2 separate regions of the Homo sapiens genome follow, and region 2 is linked to region 1. The links are contacts of gene promoters, found by promoter capture Hi-C in blood cells and fetal thymus (Javierre and others, 2016). All regions are on one chromosome and are shown on one strand. The core of a region is centred on a gene start or on the middle of the fragment in contact, and the rest is flanking DNA. Distances in the headings are between cores, read along the strand shown.

Region 1 (2,997 bases), core at 202-2,701:
AAGCAGTGAGTGTTAAGCTGGGATAGAATAAAGTTCCCTTTAAAGGATTATGAGAAGGAATGTGGAAGAAAGATGGGGCAGTGGGTTTGGCACTGAAGAAGAGAAGCGCTCATTTAAAACACTGTTCTTTCCTACATTCCCTAACCCCCGCCCTAGTGTCCCACAGCGCGCTGAGGATGGCTTTCCTTTTGTTGCAAACCAGTGATTTCTGGCATCCCCCTTCCAAATCACAGAAGCCAGCGGGGACTGCACAACTATAATACGTATCCGCATGGTGGAAGGCAGGATAGGGTGGTGGGAAGGGTACGCGGGCTTGGGGGTGAGGCGCTGGGCCAGGGACCGAAGCAAGTTTCCTCATCGGCAAACGGTCATAAAGTTGCCTCCCACCGAGAACGGCCAGAAGAACCAAGCGGATCGCCAGGACCGTGCGCAGAGCCTGCACGTAGCGAACGCTGTGATTCCCTTCTTCCCCTCCCACGGCAAGCGACACCGAAGGTCTGGGGACACCCTTAGGGTTGTGACTGAGGATGGTTGTCGAGTGACTACAGAGCCCAGTAAATAACGCGCATCTCCTCCAGCACCGCGGAGCGCGGAGCCCGGAGCCCGGAGCCCGCCGCGCGCGGGCGCCGGGGAACGCTCGCGTCCACGGCCGGGCCCGCAGCCCAGCCCCCTGGCTCCCGGCTTCCCGCTTCGACAAGGGCATGCCGCGGCCCCCCGGAGCTCGGGGCGCGGGAGCTGGCACCGGAAGCGGGGAGGGCCGGCGGAGCTGGGCGGCCAGGAGTCGGGTACTTACCCCCGGCGGGCGGCGGGCGGCTGAGGTCGCGGCCAGCCGGCTCCAGGCGGCGGCGAAGTCGGGCGGCTGGGCGCGCGGGCTCCGGCAGACGAGGGCAAACAGGATCCCCAGCAGGAAGGCGGCCGCCGCGCAGCTCAGGTACAGGCTGAGCCTGAACAGGACGGAGCTCAGCCCCGCGGCCCCCGCCGCCTCCCCGCTGCCGGGCCCCAGGAAGGAGAGGGCCACGGCGGCGAGTGCGGCCACCGCCACGGGCTTCCACCAGCTCCGGCCGCCCGGGGCCCCCGGCGCCGCCGCTGCTGCTGCCTCCGCGTCCCCCGGGGACTCCGGCCGCCGCTCGCCCCTGAAGCCCGAGACAGGACGGCCGCCGGCGCCTGCGGCCCGCGCGGGGCTGGGGCCGGCGCCGCCACTGTCGGTCGCATCGGGGTGCATGCTGCTTCCTGGGCCGCTAAGGACAGGCACATCTCCTGCCCCCCGGTCCCCCGCCGGCGCTCCGGAGGCAGGGGGAGCCCGCGCTCATGCCTCGCCCGCGGCCCACCGAGGGAGCGGCCCCCGCAGACGCCGCCGGGCCCCTCTCGGCGACCCCTCAGCGCCGCCACCAGGCGCTGGGCCCGTAGCTGCCGGGCCGGGCGCAGCCAGGGAGCCCCACCGTGTTGTGACTGAAGCCTGGCCAGCCTGACGCGGGCGGGGCGGGGCCGCCCTGAAGTGCGTGTCGGGCGGGGCCCGGAGCCACCGCGGCCGCTGAGTGACAGCCGGGAGGCGCCCACCCACAGCGCGGGGGCGGGGTCCGGGCCGGGGCCCCACGGGGAGAGGGCGCGACCCAGCGCGGTGCACACCTCTCTTTCCCACGCTCCCCTCCTCCTCTACAGGATGCCGTCTGTTCATGGAAAATTTTGCTGCAGGTGTCAGCGGCGCTGGTAATTCCTGAGCTCAGGTGATCCCGTAATTCTCCCTCTCCGCTCATCACTGACGAGTAACCTCTTCGCTTTGCTTACAGCCGGCAAACATTTCTGCCTGGTTTTCACTCGCTATTTAAATAGGCAACCGTTCCCGAGACTCCCTGTCACAGTTTCTAACGACCTTCCCTTTCCCACCCTGCCGCCTTAGGGAAGGAATCAGACACGTGCGGTGGAGTAAGTGAAGCCTGCAATTCCTAGCTATGGAAAGGTCCAAAGAAGTCGGCCTGGTGCAACAGGGTGCACGCAGCTGCCCATAATCACTTTGGCTCCACTTCTGGTTTTTGTTTTGTTTTGTTTTGTTTTTTGTTTTTTACCAACTATTCAGTTCAAATGCTATCAGCCACGCAAAGGAACGTGGTCCAAATAATTTTTAGAGTATATATTTGCCTTTTCTTCTGTCATAGTCCCAGCCAGTAATATACAGATAACGCTTGCTAAGTAGATGCCAATATGCTACTTAAACACTGGCAATTACTGCTAAGACTAATAAAGAAGCAGATGTAGCTTTTGCTTTTAGTATCAATTGGTATTCATGGGCATTTCATTCTTTCTTTCTTTCTTTTTTTCTTTTTTTTTGAGACGGAGTCTCTGTTGCCCAGGCTGGAGTGCAGTGGGGCGATCTCGGCTCACTGCAATCTCTGCTTCCTGGGTTCAAGCCATTCTCCTGGCTCAGCCTCCCGAGTAGCTGGGATTACAGGCACGCACCACCACACCTAGCAAATTTTTGTATTTTTAGTAGAGACGGGGTTTCACCATATTAGCCAGGATGGTCTCAATCTCCTGACCTCGTGATCCGCCTGCCTCAGCCTCCCAAAGTGCTGGGATTATAGGTGTAAGCCACCGCGCCCGGCCTCATTTCATTCTTTCTTAAACCTTCTAAGTCAGAAATGAAGAGTGCCTCATGCTAGATGTGACTTTGCCATGCCAAGGGGATGATCAAAATAAGTTACCAGTTTCCTTTCTCCTCCTTTTTTAAGAAAATAGGGGCGGGCACGGTGGCTCACGCCTGTAATCCCTACACTTTCGGAGGCTGAGGCGGGCAGATCATGAAGTTAGGAGTTCAAGACTAGCCTGGCCAACATAGTGAAACTTGAACCCCGGAGGTGGAGGTCGCAGTGAGCCGACATCGCGCCATTGCACTCCAGCTTGGGCAACAGAGTGAGACTTCGTCTCAAAAATAAAATAAAATAAATAAAGCAGTATGATTAATTTTGAAGAAGCCCTTTTGCCTCTAAAATAGTTGTTAAT
Region 2 (2,997 bases), core at 153-2,652, 940 kb after region 1:
CCAGCTGTGAAGCTTCTGCATGAGCTGACACTGCCTATGTCCCCAAATTCAGCTGTGCCATTTACCAGGCACATGGGTCTTTTTTCAGTTCTTCAGGCATGTGGAGCTCTTTCTCACCTTAAAGCAATTTGCTTCCTCTGCCAGGAATATACATGACTTGCTTTCCATATCTGGCTCAGATGAAATACTACAGAAGCCTTTCCTGCCTATTTTATCTGAGTAGGTACTACCTGCCCCCAATCAGCCCCTGGTTTGATTCATTACTAGCAATTATCATTATGAATTATTTATTAGTGCATTGTCTGTGAACCTCACCAAAGTGTAAGCTGCCTCAAAGGTGGCATCTTGTCCATTCTACCCATGTCTGGATTCTCCAGCCCAGCCCAGTGCGTGCCTCATAATGGGTTCTCTTTTTTTTTTTTTTTTGAGACAGAGTCTCGCTCTGTTGCCCAGGCTGGAGTGCAGTGGTGTGATCTCGGCTCACTGCAAGCTCCAACTCCTGGGTTCAAGTGATTCTTGTGTTCAGCCTCCCAAGTAGCTGGGACTACAGGCATGTGCCACCGCGCCCAGCTAATTTTTATATTTTTAGTAGAGACGGCATTTCACCATGTTGGCCAGGCTGGTCTCGAACTCCTGACCTCAAGTGATCCACCTGCCTTGGCCCCCCAAAGTGCTGGGATTACAGGTGTGAGCCACTGGGCCAGGCCTTCATAATGGGTTCTTAATAAACATTTGTTAAAAGCATTGGTTCATCACATATTAGTAATTTTCATCTTTACTTATTCCTTATGATTTTTTGTTTGTTTAATATAGGTTATACCTTTTGATATCCTATAGAGGAGTCCAGCGTGTTGGATCTCTTGGGTCCTCCTGTAGATTATTTTTAGAGTCTTCTAAAGTCTTCTAAATCATTGAGATGAAGTCTCTTTCCTATTTTCTGTAGCTTTACAAAAAACTACCTCCCAGACCCCGCCCCGCCCCATAGAGTTTTTCCTCCCTTATTTACTCATCCTTAAAGGAAGTGACATCTGTAGAGAGCCAGTGCTTGTTAAGAGCGAGGGTGAGCTCATCATCGAGGTCCGGTCCTCCTGTGTGGAGTCCTATCCTGGTGCTCTCGGGGTAGGACAGGTGGGCAGTGCCTGCTCCCAGCCTGTTCCTGATTCCTCACAGTTGCCTACGGAAGCTCTATTTCCCCAAACTTCTAACTTTTCCTGCCTTATCTGATTGTTCTCTGGTATTGTATTCTGAGTCCAAGGAGGGCACGAGAAACTAGTTTCTAACATGCTGCTAAGCGTGTTTCTTTCCTACTCTTCTCTTACTAAGACTGCTTTACTCGTGCGCATTGTTTTTCCTAAAATGCGATGAGCCAGCAGCAGTTTCTTCTACTTTCCGCACAGGTGATTTTTCTTTGCTTGCTTTTTAAGCTCCTTTCTCTGAATGAATATAGATTAAAAGAGGGATGGGACGAGGGGTGGACAGCACTAAGGGTAACTGCATAGCAGCAAGAATGACTCACGTCTGTGTTGCTGGTAGTTTCTGAGTTCAGGTCCTGGGTGCTGGGAGGAGACAGCTGCCTGCAGAGTGGTGAGAAATTCTTCCAATCTTTTTTAGATGCTTCCCTTTTCTGAAGTAAAGCCTGAATATGCCATTAAGAGAAGCTGTGGTAGGTTTTCCTCCCACCTAGTTCCATCTGCCGTGTGGTTAATGAAACATCTTTCCATATTTTCCATGTGGTTATTCATCAAGCCTAGTTTTGGGGATGGTGTGAGTTTTGTTTTGTTTTGTTTTGTTTTCTGGAGGGTGAGAAAAGTTGCATTTTAGGGTTGCTGATAAGATCTAATTAAAACCCATTTTTAAAATATTAGACACTGAGAGAATTTTCCTCAGAATAGCATAATAATGGCCATTAAATATGTGCTTCCCCCACCCTTAATCAGCTCTATACTAGGAATTAGCACTAAAAATATTAGAAGAGAGATGTTATATTTACATATTTGGTTGAGACTAAAGAACTTCTTCCTCTTAGCTGCAATAGACTCTTATTTTACTCTGGCTTTCTCTCCCAATTAAGCTAGGAACAATAACTATTGTCTATTTCCCTTCAATTTCAATCCACCGTTTCTTTTTTATTTTCAGCTATACGTGAACAGATATGGGCTAGGGAAACATAAAAATTAAATAACTTGAGTGGGTCAATAAAAAGGTTATTCTGTTTCTTTCAGGGTTTTTGAGGATTATAATGAATAAAACAGAACCAGAGAAGTTACGAAGCATGTGTTTATCACTCAGCAATAGAGAATTTTAAACAAGTACTTTAAATCATTATTATATATAAAATACATTTATTATATTACTGTACATATAAATATAATAATATATTTAATAGGTGTTTTAAATATAATTTGAGCTTTCAAGCATGTGTTTATCACTCAACAGAAAGAATTTTAAATATATAATGTAAACAATGCTATATAAATACAATAAATATGTATTTTATATACCTAAAAATATTTAAATATGTACTATATATAATTTTATATTAAAACATTAAAAATGTTTTATATTCTATTTATATGGTGTATATTAAATATGTACTGTATATGTTTAAAATATATTTAAAATTCTGTTGCTGATAATACACATTTTTTAACTTGTGTTTTTGTTTTAAGTATACATACATATATACATGATGTATTATCATATGTATATATATGTCACACATGTATGTATTTCTCCATTGTACCGTATTTACTTTTAAAACAATAATCTAGGGACAAAAATTGAAAGCTTTAGCTCCTAGTGACTACAAGCTGTAGACTGTAGGTTGGCACAAAATCTGAATGGGAGCCAGTGGATTTGGTGAGCAAATCCTTGCCACAAGCCCTTTGATGTTCTAAAGCTGAAGCCATTTCAGCTGAAAGCCGGTTGGGGCGCGGGGATTAGGACTGTAGTTTCTAGATTTTGGAAACAGCGCGCCCCCTTGTGGCCATTCACATG

Evidence for each region. Contacts are between HindIII fragments. The CHiCAGO score rates a contact against its expected background, and 5 or more counts as called.
Region 2: a fragment that was not itself captured here is called in contact with the fragment with the promoter of SNX25 in region 1 in 1 of 17 cell types (activated CD4 T cells); the score reaches 5.4 in activated CD4 T cells.

The regions. Positions count from the first base shown.
Region 1 is chr4:185,208,052-185,211,048 of GRCh38, reverse strand. It overlaps SNX25 (sorting nexin 25), which reads right to left and starts at 1,451. Exons shown (of 19, transcript NM_001378034.2): 1 at 794-1,451. The coding sequence starts at 1,222. It also overlaps a transcript of CFAP97 not described here. RefSeq lists silencers at 643-832, 903-1,062, 1,173-1,752. The HindIII fragment of the contact is 7,757 bases long and covers 1-2,997 here.
Region 2 is chr4:184,264,310-184,267,306 of GRCh38, reverse strand. LOC105377582 (a long non-coding RNA gene) reads left to right here. Exons shown (of 6, transcript XR_939552.3): 5 at 2,223-2,309. LOC105377584 (a long non-coding RNA gene) reads right to left here and starts at 1,661. Exons shown (of 2, transcript XR_007058414.1): 1 at 1,517-1,661. RefSeq lists enhancers at 1,405-1,484, 2,663-2,732. The HindIII fragment of the contact is 2,775 bases long and covers 15-2,789 here.